Regions from separate parts of the Homo sapiens genome. Here region 1 is linked to region 2. Evidence: promoter capture Hi-C in human tissues and cell types (Jung and others, 2019). All regions are on one chromosome and are shown on one strand. The core of a region is centred on a gene start or on the middle of the fragment in contact, and the rest is flanking DNA. Distances in the headings are between cores, read along the strand shown.

Region 1 (7,102 bases), core at 1,669-4,168, 630 kb before region 2:
AAACAACTATTATTATTTATTTAGTTGTTTATTTTGGTATTTACCTCCTAATCTCCATATTTATATTGCTATTTCTTGGTATTTAAATTTCAGGCATTTTCTATTGATTTCCCACACTATATAAGATTAGGGACTTAACTTTCTTTTTTCTTTTTTGAGACAGAGTTTCTCTCTTGTTGCCCAGGCTGGAGTGCAATGGCGCCATCTTAGCTCACTGCAACCTCCGCCTCCAGGGTTCAAGCGATTCTCTTGCCTCAGCCTGCTGAGTAGCTGGGATTACAAGTATCACCTACCACGCCTGGCTAATTTTTGTATTTTTAGTAGAGACAGGGCATCACCAGGTTAGCCAGGCTGGTCTCAAACTCCTGACCTCAAATAATCTGCCCACCTTGGACTTCCAAAGTGCCGGGATTACAAGGCGTGAACCACCACGCCCAGGCAGGATTTAACTTTCATCCCACTCCCCACTCCCCTGCCATACAGATACCCTTCCCATCTTCCATCCTCCTAATAGGCAATAAAATTACTCAGTGTTTACTTTATTAGGATTTGGAAATGCTCTTCACAGCTAAGCCATGTAGTTTACTATAGTTACTTTTTATTTCTTACAACATTTTATCCTTAGAATTATTATTATTATTATATTGCCTAGTTTGCTATGTAGTTATCAGCAAGTCAACCTCAAACACTCCCTCAATTCTCTGAATTTCCCTCTCCAGGCTTTTGAATGCATGACACGTTCTATCTATTCCATCTTCTGAGAGGCATCTCTTAAGGAGCCCTCTGCTCTGCTTCCATCTGTCCTTGCTGCACAATTGCCCTCCAGGGATCTCCCTCCATTATCATCTTGGTAATTCCTTTGCCTCTTTCCTTAGCTGGATCCCTCGTTTCTTAGATTCCATATCTTCTTTTTTCATTTACTCCTTCATTTGGGTGAATGGTTCTTTCCCTCTAGTAGCATCCTGAGAAAGTTGGCATAAGAGGTAAATTTATTGAAGCTTTGCATGTTTTAAAATGTTATTACACATCCATAAGATATAATGAAATCATGTCCTTTGCAGCAACATGTATGCAACTGGAGGCTATAATCCTAAGTGAATTAATGCAAGAGCAGAAAACCAAATACTGCATGTTCTAACTTATAAATGGGAGCTAAACATTGGGTATATGAACATAAAGATGGTAATGATAGACACTGGGGACTGTTGGAGGAGGGAGAGAGGTGGGGGCAAGGATTGAAAAATTATTTGTTGGGTACTATGCTCACTTCCTGGGTGATGGGTTCAACAGTATCCCAAATCTCAGAATCATGTGATATACCCATGTAACAAACCTGCGCAGGTACCCCCCTCCGAATCTAAAATAAAAGTTGGGCTGGGCATGGTGGCTCTTGCCTGTAATTCCAGCACTTGGAGAGGCCAAGAGAGGAGGATCACTTGAGTCTAGGAGTTTGAGATCAGCCTAGGTAACAGAGTGAGACACTGTCTCTACAAAAAATTTAAAAATTAGTCAGGTGTGGTGGTATGTGCCTGTAGACCCAGCTCCTCGGGAGGCTGAGGTGAGAGGATTGCTTGAGCCTGGGGGGTCAAGGCTGCAGTGATCCATGGTGGTGCCACTGCACCCAGCCTGGGTGACAGAATGAGATTTCTCTCAAATAAGATAAAATAGGGCCGAGCGTGGTGGCTCATGCCTGTAATCCCAGCACTTTGGGAGGCCGAGGCGGGTGGATCACGAGGTCAGGAGATAGAGACCATCCTGGCTAACACGGTGAAACCCCGTCTCTACTAAAAATACAAAAAATTAGCTGGGCGAGGTGGCGGGCGCCTGTAGTCTCAGCTACTCGGGAGGTTGAGGCAGGAGAATGGCGTGAACCTGGGGGGCGGAGCCTGCAGTGAGCCGAGATCGCGCCACTGCACTCCAGCCTGGGCAACAGCGAGACTCCGTCACAAAAAAAAAAAAAAAAAAAAAAAGATAAAATAAAAGTTGAAATTATTTTTAAAAAGTTATTAATCTTTCCTCACACTATTGATAGTTTGGCAGGATATAGAATTCCAGGTTGAAAATAATTCTTCCTCAGGGGTTAAGGCATTGTTCCATTGTCGTATTTTATTTTTGAGACAGGGTCTTACTCTATAGCCCAGGCTGGAGTGCAGTGGTGGCACAATCATGGTTGACTACAGCCTTGATCCCCTGAGCTCAAGCAACCCTCCTGCCTCAGCCTCCTAAGTAGCTGGACTACAGGCATGTACCTACACCTGGCTAATTTTTAAATTTTTTTTTGTAGATGGGGTCTCACTATGTTGCCCAGGCTGGTCTCAAACTCCTGAGCTCAAGGGATCTGCCCATCTTGGCCTCCCAGAGTGCTGGGATTAGAGGCATGTGCCATGGCACCCAGCCTCCATGTCTTTTAATTTTCAGTGTTAGCCTTTAAAAATCTAATGCCATTCCAATCCCTGATCCTTTGTATGTGACCCTTTTCCCATTCTTGCTGAAAGCTTTTAGGATCTTCTCTTTGTTCCCAGTGTTCTGTTTTTACAGCAATTTGCCATGGTGTGGGTTATTTTCATCTATTGAGTTAGCCACTTGATGGGCCTTTTCAATCTGGAAACTGACGTTCTTCAGTTCTGGGAGATTTTTTAAAATTATTTCTTTGATGATTATCCTCCAGTATTTTTCTGTTCTTTCTGGGAATCCTATTACTTGGACAGAGGGTGTCCTGAACTGATGATCCTCTATGTTTTTGTTTTTGTTTTTTTCACTCTTGCATCTCTTTTTTTTTTTTTTTTTTGAGACAGAGTTTTGTTGTGTCGCCCAGGCTAGAGTGCAATGGTGCGATCTTGGCTTACTGCAAGCTCCACCTCCCGGGTTCACGCCATTCTCCTGCCTCAGCCTCCCAAGCAGCTGGGACTACAGGTGCCCACCACCACACCCGGCTAATTTTTTGTATCTTTAGTACAGACAGGGTTTCACCATGTTAGCCAGGATGGTTTCAATCTCCTGACCTTGTGATCCACCTGCCTTGGCCTCTCAAAGTGCTGGGATTACAGGCGTGAGCCACAGCACCCAGTCACATCTATTTCTATACTTGCTCTAGTTTCTGAAATATTTCAACTTGATCAACTCCTCTTTTTTTTTTTTTTTTTTTTGAGATGGAGTCTCACTCTTGTCCCCCAGGCTGGAGTGCAATGGCGCACATCTTGGCTCACTGCAGCCTCTGCCTCTCGGGTTCAAGTGATTCTCATGACTCAGGCTCCCAAGTAACTGGAATTACAGGTGTCTGCCACCACATCTGGCTGATTTTTGTATTTTTAGTAGAGATGGGGTTTCACCATGTTGGTCAGGCTGCTATTGAACTCCTGACCTCAGGTGATCCACTGCCTTGGCCTCCCAAGTGCTGGGATTACAGGCATGAGCCACCACACCTGGCCTATTATCAACTCTTTGGTTTTTCTTTTTTCTTTTCCCCGCCATGATGTGTTTATTTCCAAGTGCTGTTTCTAGTTCTCTGAATGTTTACCTTTTTACACCTTCTTGTTTTTGTTCATGGCTACAGTATTATCTTTTATCTCTTTAAGGATATGCTTAATGATTTTTATAAGTTCGTATCTCTCTGTATTATCTCCATTTCATTCAAGTTGCTTTTTCTTTTCCTTTTTTTTTTTCTTTTTGAGACAGAATGTCATTCTGTCACCCAGGCTGGAGTGCAGTGGCACGATCTCGGCTCACTGCAACCTCTACCTCCCAGGTTCAAGCGATTCTCATGCCTCAACCTTCTGAATAGCTGGGATTACAGGTGCCCGCTACCACAACCAGCTAATTTTTGTATTTTCAGTAGGGATGGGGTTTCATCATGTTGGCCAGGCTGGTCTCAAATTCCTGACCTCAAGTGATCATCCAGCCTCGGCCTTCCAAAGTATTGGGATTACAGGCCTGAGCCACCATGCCCGGCCTCAAGTTGCTTTTTCCTATTTATTTAGGTCTATATAGAGGGTCAGATGTCTATCATCTTTAACTGCTGCTCACCCTTCAGAGTGGATCTCTACAATGACTAGAAACCGTGTATGTATGAAGCTTGCCAACTCTGAGCCTCACTACAGGATGATCTGATTGGGCTGTTTAATTGGAGGTCTAAAGTCTGTATCTTTTTTTTTTTTCTTGAGTTAATCATATTCCCCATATTATACCACTCTAGAGAGTATAACGTAAGCAAGGCTGTCAGTATCCTAGGAGCCAAGTAGGGGTAAAGGCTTGGAGAGGTATTTCATGATATTTAGTACTTTTTAAAGTTTTTGTAGAGACAAAGTCTCGCTACGTTGTCCAGGCTGGAGTGCAGTGGCATGATCATAGCTCACTGTAGCCTCAAACTCCCAGGCTCAAACTCCTCACCTCAGCCTCCCAGAGTGCTGTGATTACAGGCGTAAGCCATTGTGCCTGGCCGTATTTAGTGTATTTTTATTTAGTCCCTCTTGTCCTCAACTATGCTCAGTGTCTTTTAATCTAGAGACCTTCTGTTCTATTCTCCATATATAAAGTCATTTGTCACGTAACAATGGGGATATGCTTAGAGAAATACACCAGCAGGAGGTTTTACTGCCGTGCAAATATGACAGGGTAAATGCACAAACTAGATGACATTTTAAAAAATTTATATACTTTTTAAAATATGGAAAACAAAATGTCCCAGCACAATTACTGAATATCAATCCCTACTTGATCTGCTATGCCAATATCAAGTGCCATATATCATATTTGTGTATATGCTGTGTTATAATCTTATGAAATCACTATGGTATATGCTGTTCATCGAAACATCGTATGTTTTGGTCGTATGATGACTGAAACATCATATAAATATTTGTGTATGTGTACACACTTATATACACATAAATGTTTATATATATGTGCATATATACACACATGATAAATGTTTATTTGACATATGTAGTCTATCATTGATCAAAATGTTTATATGGTAATCCCAGCACTTTGGGAAGCTGAGGAGGACAGATCACTAGAGGTCAGGAGATCGAGACCATCCTGGCTAACACGGTGAAACCCCGTCTCTACTAAAAATTACAAAAAAAATTTTTGCCAGGTGTGGTGGTGGACACCTGTAGTCCCAGCTACTCAGGAGGCTGAGGCAAGAGAATGGTGTGAACTCGGGAGGTGGAGCTTGCAGTGAGCTGGGATCATGCCACTGCACTCCAGCCTGGGCGACAGAGCGAGACTCTGTCTCAAAAAAATAAAATAAAATAAAATAAAATAAAAAATTAGCCAAGCATGGTGGCTCTTGCCTGTAATCCCAGCTACTCGGGAGGCTCAGGCAGGAGAATCACTTGAACCCGGGAGGCAGAGGTTACAGTGAGCTGAGATGGTGCCACTGTACTATAGCTTGGGTGACAGAGCGAGACTCTGATTCAAAAAAAAAAATTTGGCCGGGTGCAGTGGCTCACGCCTGTAATCCCAGCACTTTGGGAGGCCAAGGCGGGCGGATCACGAGGTCAGGAGATCAAGACCATCCTGGCTAACACGGTGAAACCCCGTCTCTGTTAAAAATACAAAAAAATTCGCTGGGCGTGGCAGTGTACGCCTGTAGTCCCAGCTGCTGGGGAGGCTGAGGCAGGAGAATGGCATGAACCCGGGAGGCGGAGCTTGCAGTGAGCTGAGATCGCGCCACTGCACTCCAGCCTGGATGACATAGCAAGACTCCGTCTCAAAAAAAAAAAAAAAAATTTACATGGTTGTTTATGTTATACATGGTCTGACATTGACCAAAACGTCATTATGTGTGTATGTGTATTTACATATACAGGTCAGATCCCGCAGGTCACACAAACACAGTAAATGTTTTTTGTATTTGAAAAATGTTTATTGAATTATTCAGGAAATAACTGCTTTATTCACATCTATGATAAACCAGAGTAAGACCATGCATTAATATTTGTACATTGAGGCCAGGTGTGGTAGCTCACTCCTGTAATCCCGGCACTTTGGGAGGTCGAGGTGGGAAGATCACCTGAGATCAGGAATTTGAGACCAGCCTGGCCAACATGGTGAAACCCCGTCTCTAATAAAAATACAAAAATTGGCCAGGCGTTGTGGCGCACGCCTGTAAGCCCAGCTACTCAGGAGGCTGAGGCAGGAGAATCACTTGAACCGAGGCAGAGGTTGTAGTGAGCCGAGATCACACCACTGCACTCCAGCTTGGGCAACAGAGCAAGACTCCGTCTCAAAAAAATATATATATATATTTGTACATTGAGAAAATTAGACACTGGAATTAAATGGACCTAGATTTGAGTTCCAGTTTTGCCATTAATGAGCCATATGAAATTAAAATTGATTTCTTTAAACCTTCATTTCTTTATTATAATATGAGGTACTATCTAAAGGTTTGTCATGAGACATCGAAGGAACATATTAACATGCATAGCATACCATCTGACAAGTATAATACTGTAAATCAATAAATGGTAGGCTATTTGGCTCTACATATTACTATGGTCGACTTATTTACTAGTTGTGATATTACTGTGTGTGTGTGTGTGTGTGTGTGTGTGTGTGTGTGTGTGTGCAGGTTTTCATCCAGTTTTTGGCTCATAAGCCCCATAGCCATTGTTACAGTGTTTGTTATAATGCTGGGGCACTCAGAAATAGGCTTCAGGAAACAGTCTCTTTCTGACCTTCTCCTGCTCTCCTCTCACCTTCCCAGAGTAGAACTCTAATCTGATTGTGGGTCATAAGACCCTCATTCCAGAGAAGGTCCTGACTCATACCCTGGAGGAAGGAATGCCGCAGAGAGAGGCCAATAAGAATCTAAACAGACAGGCTTTGCTGGGTTTTGATCAGACCCTTTTTGTCCAATAACATTTTGATATGGTTGTCCATGTTTCAATCGTGGACAACCAATAAAGTCTCTTTAAAAGGCCCAAAGGACCAGGCACAGTGGCTTAAGCCTGTAATCCCAACACTCTAGGGGACTGAGGTGGGAGGATCGCTTGATCCCAGGAGTTCAAGACCAGCCTGGGCAACACAGGGAAACCCTGTCTCTACCAAAAAAAAAAAAAAAAAATTAGGTGAGTGTGGTATTGCACACCTGTAG
Region 2 (6,779 bases), core at 811-3,310:
AAATGGTTTGCTTTCTTCTAGCCACATATACATAAACTTTCTCTATGTATAACCTGCCAGGAAACTAAATTCACTAATGACCTAACTCTGGCTAGACACAGGGGACCTGCAAGAGGTATTTGTTGCATACTTCTACCTCAAAAAACAAAAACAAAAACACCTGGCCCTGCGCCGTGCCTCACGCCTGTAACCTCAACACTTTGGGAGGCCAAGGCGGGAGGACTGCTTGAGTCCAAGAGTCTGAGACCAACCTGGGCAACATTAAGACCTTGTATCTACAAAAAATTGGCCAGGTGTAGTGGCACACCTGTAGTCCCAAGCTACTAGGGAAGATCAGTTGTGCCCAGGAGTTCGAGGTTGCAGTGAGCTATGATCACAACACTACACTCCAGTCTGGATGTGAGATCCAGACCCTGTCTGCAAAAACAAAACAAAAACACACAGCTGTCAGTGAAATACTGACTGCTAGAGCTGTCTAGGAAACATTATAAAAAGCAGCTCTTTTTATAATAGCTATAGCACGACTCCCAAGCCCAATCTATACTGCTTATATCGAATCAATGGGGAAAGAGGCAGGTAATGGGAGTTTGAAATTAAAATTGTATTTCCCATGAGTTCCCAAATGATTCTCAGGGTGACTTGAGAACCACTGCTCTACAAGAACGCAGAGAGAAAAGGTGGTAAGCAGAGATATACGTAAATCTCTAACTATAAACAAACAAAGACATAATCATGACAGAGTGTAAGCCTATAGAATATCAATTTAAAAAACTTCACAGCAACCATTCCTTTTACAGGGAAGGCAACTAACCTCTAAAGCGCACAAGATTAGAAAAAAAAATAGAACCAGATGCCTAAAAAAATATGGCAAGATTGGGAAATCAGACCTACTGTATGGGAAACAGCACTTGTTTCCTTGAACTCGTGTAGTGTTTCCCTCCACTGTTCAAAAAACAGATTACGCCTGAGTGGCACTGTGCCGCTTTCAAAACAATCCTATCTTGTTTCCCTCCAGTCCTTCTCCACTTCGTGCATACTACTGCCGATTCACCTAGCAACCAAACAGTGCTGGTGAGAGCTCCAGACAGCGCTTCCTGAAGACGCTTTACGTCCGGTAATGTTCCCCCCAAACAGACACCACCTCCAAAGTCTAAAGAACGACAATCCTCCCCACCACAGGCAGGGGCTCACGGAGTCGCGGGGAGCGATAACTATCTCCCAGCACAAGACGTGAGCGAGGTGTCGGGGGGAACTAGCCTCGCCGGCCCCACGGAGATAGTCCAAAGCTCCTGCTGGAGCCGCAGCGGCCCCAAACAATGGAGTTTTCCCGCCTCCTCAAGGCCCCGCCCCCTGCCCCAGGGCCGGCGAGGGAAGCGAACGCACGCGCGCAAAACCCCGCCCTCAGCAAGGCCCCGCCCACCCCGACCCCTCAGGTCCAGCCTCCTTCCTCGTGCAAGGTTTTTTTTCCCTTTTGGCGCCAAATCTTCGTTGGTTATATTCCCGGGTTATCCAGGGGTTCTACCAGAGGCACACGCTGGGGACAGAAGGGGCGTGAAGGCCAACCCGCGCGCCAGGGCCCCGCCTCCCGGCCAACCGCCCCGGGCTGGGGGAGGAAGGAGAGGGGCAGGCGAAGGATACAGCCGCCGCTGCCCCCGGCAAGATGGCGGCCGCGAAAAGCGGGGCAGGGGGCGCCAGCCGACCGCCGTTACCGCTGCTGCGCGAGGCTCTCAGCAAAAGAAGGACTGCTCCAGTGACCAGGCCTTCCCGAACAGCGACAGCTGCTCTTGGGAAGGCAAGTACTCCCGCCCACCGGTCTGCCCCTTCTCCGGAGCCCCCGTCCATTAGCCCTCCCCGCGGACTGGCCAGTGCCTTAAGCTTTCCACAGTCCCGCTTACTTGTCGGCAGAAACCAGCTCCGCGGCGACGGCGGCAGTGGCTGTGGACTCCATGGCCATCGTTCCCCTGAGGTGGCGAACCAGCGAACGGAATAGAGCCTGCGAGAAAAACAGGCAATTTGGGACGCCAGAGACTCACTCAGGGACAGAAAATGGCAGATTAGAGACCCCGCGCGGCCGGGGCCCTTTTATATACGAGGACCCTTCGCCCCGCCCATCCACTTCCGGATCCTCCCCCTCGGGTTTAAAGGGCCAGGACTCACCACCCATACCCTCCGTCCCCCGCCGGCCTACCACTATCTAGACACCTCCTGCCCTCTCCATATGGCTCCGCGGGATTGTTTCCCTCCCTAGCCCGACTTCTCCAATAAACAGCAACTTCCTGCTTCTCCAGCAAGTCGCATAAGAAGAACTGGAATCTTGACACTACAACTCCTGACAGGACGCCCCTGCGGCATCCAGAGACAGGGAAGCCAGTGCTGCTCTGCATGTTCAGGGCGAGTAGCTGAGAGTCTCCTTCCGGCCTGGATACTGAGGAAGGTGACTTAGACTTTCTCTCCGTCCTCTGAGTCGTAACGGACGGACACGCAAGGGCCGAGGACGGGTACAAGCAGCAGCGACTAGAACTGATCTGGGTGAGATCTAGGCCTCAGCAACAACTGACGCAAAAAGATTTTGTTCTAGGATTGGCTACAGCTGAAACTACCGCGCTTGATTCAAAGCTCGGGGCTTGCAGCGGGAGGCAGCTGGCTCCTCCCTCTGAACCCGCCCCCTTTGGCTGGCCCAATCCGCTGATCCCATCCTCTTAGGCCCTGCCCAGACTCCAAATCTACCAGAATTAATGCTCCCAGCGCTGTTTGTCCACTCCTGCCTATGATTTGCTGTGTGACTACTACTCGTGGGGGTACCGTGATTAGACGCTTTAAAGCTATTAGCTATCTTGTTTAATATTAACAATGCTACTAGTGAGATCAGTGTTAGTCTGTTTCTTAGAAAAATAAACCAAGGGGCCGGACGCGGTGGCTCACGCCTGTAATCCCAGCACTTTGGGAGGCCTAGGCTGGTGGATCACGAGGTCAGGAGTTCAAGACCAGCCTGGCCAAGATGGTGAGACCCCCCCGTCTCTACTAAAAAATACAAAAATTAGCCGGGCGTGGTGGCGGGCGCCTGTAATCCCAGCTACTCGGGAGGCTGAGGTAGGAGAATACTAGAACCCGGAAGGCAGAGGTTGCAGTGAGCCGAGAGCTCGCCACTGCACTCCAGCCTGGGCAACAGAGCGAAACTCCGTCTCAAAAATAAATAAATAAATAGGCCAAGGTTCCAACCTGGCCAACATGGTGAAACCCCGTCTCTACTAAAAATACGAAAATTAGCCAGGTGTGGTGGCAGGCTCCTGTAATCCCAGCTACTCGGGAGGCTAAGGCAGGAGAATCACTTGAACCCGGGAGGCAAAGGTTGCAGTGAGCCGAGATCTCGCCACTGCACTGCAGCCTGGGCAACAGAGCGAGACTCCGTCTCAAAAAAAAAAAAAAGGGGAAGCTGTGACTTGTTCAGAAAGTTGCAAGACAAATCAGTTATGGAAAGCAGTGTGCCTCATTTCCTGCAAATGGCTGAGTGAAAAATAACTGGCAGGCTAAAAAGCTGCAATTCCTCACACCTGGAGTATCATCCATTCCTTTTCACCATGGCCCAGTCTACGCTGATCGGAGTAGGGGTTTTTATTTCCCTTTAGGTTCCAGCATATTGGGAAAGATTCCTGGAGAGGATTCTTATTCCAATCTGTCAAGGCTCGAAGAGGTTGAAATCTTTGGGGCTAGAGAGCTGGACGTGAAAATGCCAATTCCTATGGCAAACATACATGGGCTCTTCCATTATTAGCTAGGTGACGTGAGCCAGGTCACGTAACCCGGATTGTAATCGAGTAGCTGGGATTAAGGTTAAGTGTAAAATGAAGACATATTAGTAGCCACCGCTTAAGGACATTGTGAGAATTACAGGTAATTAGCACTGTGTAGAATTCACGCTAAGCACTCATTGAATGGCTACCACAGTCTGATGATGTGGTAAATGGAGGGTGTTGGGAGGGGAGATCTCTCCAAAGTCCTTGCAGCCAGGGCTAGGGCCTGAGAAAACCTCTGCAATTACTGGTGTGACCGATTCATCCATTAAATTAATATTCACTGAGCAACTTTGAGGTACAAGACTTTGTACTAGGTTCTGGGGACAAAAGACATGGACTCTACCTTGAGGAACTCAGAGAAATATATTTTAAAATATATTTTAGGCTGGGCGTGGTAGCAGGTGCCTGTTATCCCAGCACTTTGGGAGGCTGAGGCAGGCGGATCACTTGAAGTCAGGAGTTCGAGACCAGCTTAGCGAACATAGTGAAACACCATCTCTACTAAAAATACAAAAATTAGCCGGGAGTGGTGGCAGGCTCCTGTAATCCCAGCTACTTGGGAGGCTGAGGCAAGAGACCCACTTGAACCCAGGAGTTGGAGGTTGCAGTGAGCTGAGATTGCACTACTACACTCCAGCCTGGGCGATGGTGAGTCTCCATCTCAAAAAAAAATAAATAGCTGGATGCAGGCCGGGCGCGGTGGCTCACTCCTGTAATCCCAGCACTTTGGGAGGCCGAGGCGGGCAGATCACCTGAGGTCAGGAGTTTGAGACCAGCCTGGATCCCCTGGTGAAACCCCATCTCTACTAAAAATACAAAAATTAGGCAGGCGTGGTGGCAGGCGCCTGAAATCTCAGCTACTTCGGGAGGCTGAGGCAGGAGAATCGCTTGAACCTGGGAGGCAGTTTGCAGTGAGCCGACATCGTGCAACTGCACTCCAGCCTGGCAACAGAGCGAGACTTCATCTCAAAAAATAAATAAATAAAATAAAATGAATAGCTGGGCACAGTGGCTCACGCCTGTAATCCCAACACTTTGGGAGGCCAAGGCGGGTGCATCACACGGTCAGGAGATCAAGACCATCCTAGCCAACATGGTAAAAACCCATCTCTACTAAAAATTCAAAAATTAGCCGGACATGGTGGTGGGGGCCTGTAGTCCCAGCTACTCAGGAGGCTGAGGCAGGAGAATCACTTAAACCCAGGAGGTGGAGGTTGCAGTGAGCTGAGATCGCACCACTGTACTCCAGCCTGGGTGACAGAGTGAGACTCTGTCTCAAAAATAAATAAATAATAAATAAATAAAAATAAGGCCAGGCAGGGTGGCTCACGCCTGTAATCCCAGCACTTTGAGAGGCCGAGGCAGGCAGATCACCTGAGGTCAGGAGTTTGAGACCAGCCTGGCCAACATGGTGAAACCCCGTCTCTACTAAAAGTACAAAAATTAGCCGGGCATGGTGGTGGGCGCCTATAATCCTAGCTACTCAGGAGGCTAAGGCAGGAGAATCGCTTGAACCTAGGAGGCGGAGGTTGCAGTGAGTCGAGATTGCACCACTGCACTCCAGCCTGGGCAACAGAGTGAGATTCCATCTCAAAAAAACAAAAAATAAAAATTTTAAAAAATAAGTATATTTTAAATCCATGTACTTTTTAAATTTTTTTTGAGACAGAGTCTCACTCTGTCGCCCAGGCTGGAGTGTGCTGTCATGATCTCAGCTCACTGCAATCTCCACCTCCTGGGTTCAAGTGATTATCCTGCCTCAGCCTCCTGAGTAGCTAGCATTACAGGCGAGCACCACCGTGCACAGCTAATTTTTGTAGTTTTCGTAGAGATGGGGTTTCACCACGTTGGCCAGGCTGGTCTTGAACTCCCGACCTCAGCTGATCCACCCACCTTGGCCTCCCAAAGTGCTAGGATTACAGGCATAAGCCACCATGCCCGGCCTGTTTTCCTCATGTAACCCCAGGAATTAAAAGTCCTCAAAGGCCAATGGTCCAAATAGGAGATTGGCAAATGAAGGATCTTGTGGGGGCTGGGTTTTCTTCTGCCTGTCCGTGGAGTTATATACGTGTTGTGTGTGACGTCTATAGAAATAGCTCTAATTAATTGGCCTAAAGGAAGATAAGCACTTGGATCAAATATTTATTAAAGGGAAGATAGGCTGGGTGTGGTGGCTCACGCCTGTAATCCCAGCACTTTGGGAAGCCAAGGCGGGCGGATCACCTGAAGTCAGGAGTTCGAGACCAGCCTGACCAACATGGACATACCCCATCTCTACTAAAAATACAAAATTAGCCAGGCTTGGTGGCCCATGCCTGTAATCCCAGCTACTTGGGAAGCTGAGGCAGGAGACTCAGTTGAACCTGGGAGGTGGAGGTTGCGGTGAGCTGAGATTGTGCCATTGCACTCAAGCCTGGATAACAAGAGCGAAACTCCATCTCAAAAAAAATAAAAGGAAAGATAAAACCTGTGATACTTTTCAGTTCACCTGACTTTAATCTTTGAGAAATGAAAACAGCCTTAAAGATTATTGGTAAAAAGCCAATGTCATCAAAATATAAATAAGTGGACTGGGCCGAGTGCAGTGGCTCACGCCTGTAATCCCAGCACTTTGGGAGGCTGAGGTGAGCGGATTGCCTGAGCTCAGGAGTTCAAGACCAGCCTGGGCATCAGGGTGAAACCCCATCTCTACTAAAATACAAAAAATTAGCTGGGCATGGTGGCGTGCTCCTGTAGTCCCAGCTACTTAGGAGGCTGAGGCAGGAGAATTGCTTGAATCCAGGAGGCAGAGGTTGCAGTGAGTCGAGATCGTGCCACTGCACTGCATCCTGGGCAACAAAGCAAAACTTTGTCTTAAAAAAAAAAAAAATAGTTGGACTAAATTATGCAGGTCAGATACCAGGTTGGCTAAATGTTTTATGGTTATAAACTGCTTTTTGGTCTCTACTAAAAATACAAAAATTAGCTTGGCATTGTGGCAGGCAC

The links. The method cuts DNA at HindIII sites, captures the fragments that hold promoters and counts their contacts. A contact is called where the count stands out against the background at its distance.
Region 1: a contact is called between a fragment that was not itself captured here and the fragment with the promoter of NASP in region 2, in 1 of the 25 tissues and cell types used here (bladder).

The regions. Positions count from the first base shown.
Region 1 is chr1:46,210,912-46,218,013 of GRCh38, reverse strand. All of the region lies in intron 1 of LURAP1 (leucine rich adaptor protein 1), which reads right to left. It also overlaps a transcript of POMGNT1 not described here. Among named protein-coding and RNA genes, the nearest start is that of LURAP1, 11 kb to the right of the region's middle. The HindIII fragment of the contact is 6,161 bases long and covers 1-5,998 here.
Region 2 is chr1:45,579,322-45,586,100 of GRCh38, reverse strand. NASP (nuclear autoantigenic sperm protein) reads right to left here and starts at 2,060. Exons shown (of 15, transcript NM_002482.4): 1 at 1,896-2,060. The coding sequence starts at 1,954. RefSeq lists silencers at 1,365-1,664, 2,575-2,634 and enhancers at 2,165-2,474, 2,925-2,984, 3,395-3,444. The HindIII fragment of the contact is 14,749 bases long and covers 1-6,779 here.